2 separate regions of the Homo sapiens genome follow, and region 2 is linked to region 1. The links are contacts of gene promoters, found by promoter capture Hi-C in human tissues and cell types (Jung and others, 2019). All regions are on one chromosome and are shown on one strand. The core of a region is centred on a gene start or on the middle of the fragment in contact, and the rest is flanking DNA. Distances in the headings are between cores, read along the strand shown.

Region 1 (3,346 bases), core at 238-2,737:
CAAAGCTGCTCTAACCAATGTTCCAGAGAAAGCCACCCTCAAAGAGAAATAACCCATTAAACATTACCAGATAGGCATGAGGTACAGAAAAAGAATTTTTCTTTCCAGCTCCAGATAAATATCTACATCTGGTGTCAAAGTCTCAGGATATAAAGAGGAGAGAACTCCATATATAAAAGAGGATAGGACAATATTCTCAGAAAATTCAAAAAGACAGAGGTTGGCTAAGGGGATGGGTGGAAACAGTGGGGCGTAGACTAACAAGTAAGGTAAAGTCCAGGGAGAAGGAATGCGCACCTTGGTTTTCCCTTAGTGGCACTACCAGGAGCACTAGGAGACTGTCAAAACATCAGGGGCAATGTGATATTTCTCAATTCTTAAAACCAAAGAAGCAAAAATAAGCTTCAGAGGGCAAGTGATCATAGCTATGGATGAGGCCTCGGGCTCCAGGAAAGTTGGGGCAGTATTTATTGCTGCTTCTACTTTCTCTTTCCTGTCATTTTAATGTTTGGGTCACTTTACTCCTAAGGTTGCTTTTCATGTCTGTGGGTCTAGTCACTGCTACTTGGTACAAAGCATTTCCCAGTATAAACAGCATAGGGTAGTTCTAGAGTTTTCATCCTAAATCCGTTTTCTTACTTTCAATCTTAAAACCATATTGAGAGGACAAACAGCCTCCATAAAGTTTTTTTCCCAAGGAGACAGAGTAATCTTATTATGTGAATGACAACAGTTCTAACTTCTAGACTTGTTATATCACAAATACAAAATGACAAATCAGTTATGGTTTTAAAAAATTAGTTTGGAATGGTTTCACAAGCTAGATGATGGAGCAGCTACTAAATCAATGGAGCTTCCAAGAACATTCTATACCCCAGGAAGGAAAGGACAACCAAAGAGGTTTCTTAGTTTTGTACAGGGCAAGAGGAGCCTATAGTTGGCCTTGAGAGGGAGCTCTTTGGGCAAGATAAAAAAACAAGAGGACTTGACGAGGAATAGCAGGAAAACCTACTAAAAGGGGAGGGGGGAATCAAAATGTAAGAAGGGAAGACAGTGAAATTTACACAGGAGGAAGGAGCTGAGAAAGTCACAGCCTTACACAAACAGCTGAAAGAATCTTCACTCAGTCCTCCCAGCACAGGTCCCCGTGACAACAGCATCACATCTGCTTTCCTAGGAGCACTTTTACACTGACTGCCTATTTCCTTCCTCGTTTATGATTAGTCTTTGGGGGCTTTACTTTCTGGAACTGTGCTGGCACTGGCTCCTGCTCTGGTTCCTTACAGGAGGCTGACACTACCAGTTCCTCATTATTCCTCCTCTGATCCTTCCCTACTCTAAGACTCAGCTCTGTCTCGGGAAGCTCAATGCCAGGCTGCTGCCGCCTTCTTAGAGACCTTCTGCTCCTGTGCTGCTGCCTCCGCTTTTCTTCTTCTTGCTGCCGCTGCTTTATCTTCATCAGCTTTTCAAAGCTTTTGGTTGTTGTTGGGTTTACAACGAACCAGTCCTAGAGAGGCAAAATAGAAATGTCATCCAGTCGAAAATATAGTGAAGAACATAAAGAAAGGTGGAGGAAGAATGGAAAAAAGGCATGATTAGGGCAGAACACAGTAAGAAGGAAACAGATATGGAACCATACCTCAGGATTCTATATTTTAAGATGGAGAAATCCAACACAGAGCAGCTATTACAAGCACATATTTTGTAAGGCGTAATTCTAGGGACTTTAATAAATGATCTACAAAGTCTGTTTACTTAGCATCATCCCACTCTTATATCTCCTGAGTATAAATCTCATCATGAGATGTAACACACTGAGCCATAGGAGATTTTTATTCCATGACGGCATCGTAACTAAGAGCATAAATTTTGCAGCCAGACCCCCTGGGTGCAAATCCCAGCTCTGTTTCTAGATACGTGACCATGGGCGAATTACTTAACATTTTCGAGGCTCACTTTAAAAAATTAAGGGGTAGGGGACATGAAATCCAATTATGAAGTATTTTTGCCAAAAAAGAAAGAACTTCAATCTTATCAAGTGATCTGTTCAATCTTCTAAATCTACCAATTCATAGGAAAAGCCAGAATAGGGAGTTGAGCCCAATCTCTCTGCCCCACTGCAAGACTCCACTGCAGTGGTCCCTGTACCTCAAAAACAAACAACAACAACAAAAAGCAAAAAAGGAAATGGCCAGAATACAGGAATACTATCATAGGGTGCAATCAGCAAAATTCCAGAATGTGGGTACATGTATGTGACAAGTGATCCGGTTTCTTCAATAAATGGCAAATTTGTAAAAAAGAAGAGGAAGCTTTTAGTCTTGCACCATGCAATGAGATAGCCACTAGCCACATATGGTAAGTGATGTGTTTAAATGTGAGTAGAACAAATTAAGATATGCTTTCATGTAAAATATACAACAAATCTCAAAGACTTGTTATGAAAAAAATGTAAAATATCTCAATAATTTATTGATTTAATGTTAAAAATAATTTTAGATATATTGGGCTTAATAATTATTAACATTAATTTCATCTTTTAAAATACTTTTTTAATGTGGCTACTAGAAAATTTTAAATTATATACATGGCTCACAGTACTTTTTTTGGATAGTGCTGCTCTAGATTAAAACAAACAAATGCAATATTTAGACCTTGTTTTAGATCCTAATTTGAAAAATCAACTCTGAAAAAACATTATAAGATAATCAGGGAAATTTAAATAATAACTAGACATATGATAATATTAAAATTCTTAACTTTTTTAGGTATAATGATGTTTGTGGTCATATGTTTTCAAAAGTCCTTATCTCTTACAGATATATATTGAAAGAAGCACTTACAGCTGAAATTTTATGTGGAATTTGCTTTAAAGTAAGCCTTTAAGGGAGGAGAAAAGTGAGGTTATAAATGACACAAGATTGGCCATACACTGATGATTGCTGAGGATGGCTGACAGCATACTGGGTTCATTATGCTATTTTCTCTACTTTCATGTGTTTGAAATTTTCTGTTAAAAAAAAAAAAGTAGTGTAAGAAAATGTGATGGAGGGAGGAAGAAACAGGGTAAAGATGTTTTACCACCCACAAAATTCATAGAGGCATAAATCAATAAACAAATGCCTGGGAGCATGCCCCAAACCAAGTGAAATTTGTTGGTTCCAATTCTTTTGATTTTAACTTTTTAGGAAGAAAATAGACAAACCATTTAACTATATAAAGGCCAGATTTTGTCAGGAGATAATTACCTTTTTTTTTTAACAGAGTCTTGCTCTGTTGCCCAGGCTGGAGTGCAGTGGCGCAATCTCGGCTCACTGCAACCTCCGTCTCCTGGGTTCAAGCAAAT
Region 2 (3,341 bases), core at 688-3,187, 310 kb after region 1:
GCTCACACCTGTAATCCCAGCACTTTGGGAGGCCGAGGTGGGTGGCTCACTTGAGGTCAGGAGTTCGAGACCAGCCTGGCCAACATGGTGAAACCCTGTCTCTCCTAAAAATACAAAAATTAGCCAGGTGTGGTGGAGCACACCTGTAGTCCCAGCTACTTGGGAGGCTGAGGCACGAGAATTGATTGAACCCGGGAGGCAGTGAGCCAAGATTGTGCTACTGCACTCCAGCCTGGGCAACAGAGGAGACTCCATCTCAAAAAAAAGGTGCTGAAGGAAAGAGACCTAAACCTGCCAATCCTTTGTCATGATCCCTCCTTTGCCATTTCATGCTCCCATCTCCAGCCCTTGCTCACTGCTTAGCCTTCCTCCTCTTCATTGTGTTATTCCTGTTCCTTAGGTTGGCCGTTGTCCAATGTGTTGCTGTTATCTGGAACTCCTACCTGTCCTGGAAGGCACATCGGCTCTAAGCCTGCCTCACTCCATCGTTTCCACCTTGCAGTGATGCAGCTTGACCCTGGAACGGTCAGACAACCTCCTCAAAGTGGGCATACCAGTTTCCACGGGGTTGGGTTGCCGGTCAGAGCTTAAGAGGACTAGCACCCTGCAATGCCCCTCTTCACTCTAAAATGTACACTGACTGCTTTAGAGCCCTTGATAATAGTCTTATTCCCACCACATACTAGGCACTCCATAAATATCTGTTGAACCTTCATGACCTTATCAACTTTACACCCATATCCCAGCAAATGCCACTCATCCCCACTCTTCATAGACACATTTGTTACTCTAACCCTGCCTAGGCTTCTTGTAGCTCCAGCTCTTTAGAGACTCCCGGAACCCTTTATATGGTGCCTCAGTAAATATGTTATTAAATATGTAATCCGGAATCTGCAGTGGTAATGAGTAAGTTTTTAAGCAGAAAACTATTGGGGAGTCATTTCTAGAGCTGGAAAGAAGCCAAGAGACCACCAAGCCCAATTTTTTTTTTTTTTTTTTTTTTTTTTTTTGAGACAGGGTCTTGCTCTGTCTCCCAGGCTGGAGTGCAGTGGCGCGATCTTGCCTCACTGCAGCTTCCGCCTCCTGGGTTCAAGCAGTTCTCCTGCCTCAGCCTCCTGAGTAGCTGGGACCACAGGCGCATACCGCCACGCCCGGCTAATTTTTGTATTTTTAGTAGAGATGGGGTTTCGCCATATTGGCCAGGCTGGTTTCAAACTACTGACCTCGTGATCCGCCTGCCTCGGCCTCCCAAAGTGTTGGGATTACAGGCGTGAGCCACCGCGCCTGGCCAAGCCCAGTCTTACAAATGAGGACCCTGAGGTTGGTAGGAGGGAGGTGACCTGTCCACACCAGGAGTTAGCAGAAACTTGAACCCATATTTCTTTGCTGCTCATGGGCAGAGTTACACTGCTGCTATGATTCCCAGGAGAGAAACTGAACTTTGCTAAACTACTTTGGCAAACTCAAAAGCAGATGGGCCAGCCATTTGTGGTCTGAAAGCACTCGGATGCTAGAGACCCTCTGTTACATGGTGCCTGTCAGACAGCCCTACAATTTGGATCCTGGGGCTGGAAAAAGATAAGAATGCTGGGAGACTTTGGTTGTGGCAGACTGCCTCTCAGTGGGTCCCACTGTGTTGGCTGAGTGCCAGCGGTGGACTCCTGATGCCTGCATTTGCAGAACTGATAGCTGCAGGGAGGCAGTGGGTTCCAGCGGCACAGCGTTCTCACATTTCTGGCCACTTCTAGAGGCAGAGGACGGGGTCAGCACCATGGACAGCCTCACGGTCCCGCCTCCCTTTCGTGTGTCAGAACACGCGACCCGGACTAGTCTGGTCTGGGGACGGCCCTAGTCATTGCTGGCTGTTCTAAGCGGGGCGAGGGACTCCCGTGGGTCCCAGAGCAGTCTTTACGCCCCAGCCGGCTTCTCGCTTTCCTGCGTCCAGTGCTGCTTCCAGCGCTAGCCCCAGGGGCACGAAGGCTGGTGTAGGGAGGTGCGCCCCTCCGGGGGCCCGCCAGCCGTCAGACTCGAAGCTGTGGCTGTCATTGCTTCTACAATCAGTGCATGTTCTTCGCTGACGTCAGTCGGAGCTGTCCTGGCACTATATAAGGCTGGCGACAGCCCCGGGACAGACCCTGTGTTCCCCAAGGCGTCTTCAGCCTGCCCCGAGGGACAGAGACTGGAGCTCAATCTTGGACCGTACAGACGCTCGCCGACAACCTGTGAGTGGCTCAGAGCGTCCGCCCAGCCTCCCCCTGCACCAGGACTCCGCTCAGCTCAGCCACCACGCTCCTCCGGGGAGGGAGGCTGGGTGGAAGGGATGGAACAGCACTGGCGCAGTGGCTGGGGCTGGAGGGCAGGCTGCGGGCATTGGGCGGCGGCCGGAGGGGTCGCCGGGCGAGCGCGGGGAGGGGAGCGGCGGCCTGCAGCTGTCCCAGGCGCACCTCACCCTGCGCTGCCCCTGTGTGTCCAGGGCCGGCGGCACCATGAGGCAGGCGGGACGCGCAGCGCTGCTGGCCGCGCTGCTGCTCCTGGTACAGCTGTGCCCTGGGAGCAGCCAGAGGAGCCCCGAGGCGGCCGGGGTCCAGGACCCGAGTCTGCGCTGGAGCCCCGGGGCACGGAACCAGGGTGGCGGGGCCCGCGCGCTCCTCTTGCTGCTGGCGGAGCGCTTCCCGCGCCGCGCGGGGCCCGGCCGATTGGGACTCGGGACGGCAGGCGAGCGGCCGCGGCGGGACAACCCTTCTCTGTCCATTGACCTCACCTTTCACCTGCTGCGGACCCTGCTGGAGCTGGCGCGGACGCAGAGCCAGCGGGAGCGCGCCGAGCAGAACCGCATCATATTCGACTCGGTGGGCAAGTGATGGCCCGGTTTGGGGCTGCGAAAACGTTGACCCCTTTCCCCCACCCCAGAGTTGGGATGCGGGGCAGAGCCACCAGGGCACTGTCTGCGTGACTATTTTTTAATAAAAGTACTGAAGACCCGTTGGCTTTTGTCGTAGAGGCAGGGCAGTCACAGCAGCGTGGGAACCCGTGGGAAGGTGGGGCCCCCGGGCCAGCGGGAGGGGAACAAAATGCTGTGGGGGGCTCCGAGACAGCGGCTTTCAGCCAGGTCAGCCAGGTGCATGTGGACCCCAAGGGTCCCCAAATCCCCAGGACCTCAGAGGTCCCGGCACCACCGCCCCGCCCTCGGCCCTCTTCCCAGGGCGCTGGGCTCACCAGTTCGCTCCTGGCATCACAGAGGTGCCCAATAGGGGTTCATTTGGCTTCCGCCCCCCAGACGGTCTCAGGTTCTGGGAAGGGCAGGATGGTGGGCGGGTCGCCTTCGAAGCCCAGGCTGCGGG

Evidence for each region. The method cuts DNA at HindIII sites, captures the fragments that hold promoters and counts their contacts. A contact is called where the count stands out against the background at its distance.
Region 2: a contact is called between the fragment with the promoter of UCN here and a fragment that was not itself captured in region 1, in 1 of the 25 tissues and cell types used here (liver).

Annotation. Positions count from the first base shown.
Region 1 is chr2:27,619,314-27,622,659 of GRCh38, reverse strand. It overlaps ZNF512 (zinc finger protein 512), which reads right to left. Exons shown (of 14, transcript NM_032434.4): 14 at 1-1,507. The coding sequence ends at 1,199. Among named protein-coding and RNA genes, the nearest start is that of CCDC121, 8.0 kb to the left of the region's middle. The HindIII fragment of the contact is 6,428 bases long and covers 1-3,346 here.
Region 2 is chr2:27,307,041-27,310,381 of GRCh38, reverse strand. UCN (urocortin) reads left to right here and starts at 1,937. Exons shown (of 2, transcript NM_003353.4): 1 at 1,937-2,222; 2 at 2,474-2,982. The coding sequence starts at 2,487. The coding sequence ends at 2,861. It overlaps TRIM54 (tripartite motif containing 54), which reads right to left. Exons shown (of 9, transcript NM_187841.3): 9 at 2,947-3,341. MPV17 (mitochondrial inner membrane protein MPV17) reads left to right here. Exons shown (of 8, transcript NM_002437.5): 8 at 401-890. The coding sequence ends at 470. The HindIII fragment of the contact is 27,300 bases long and covers 1-3,341 here.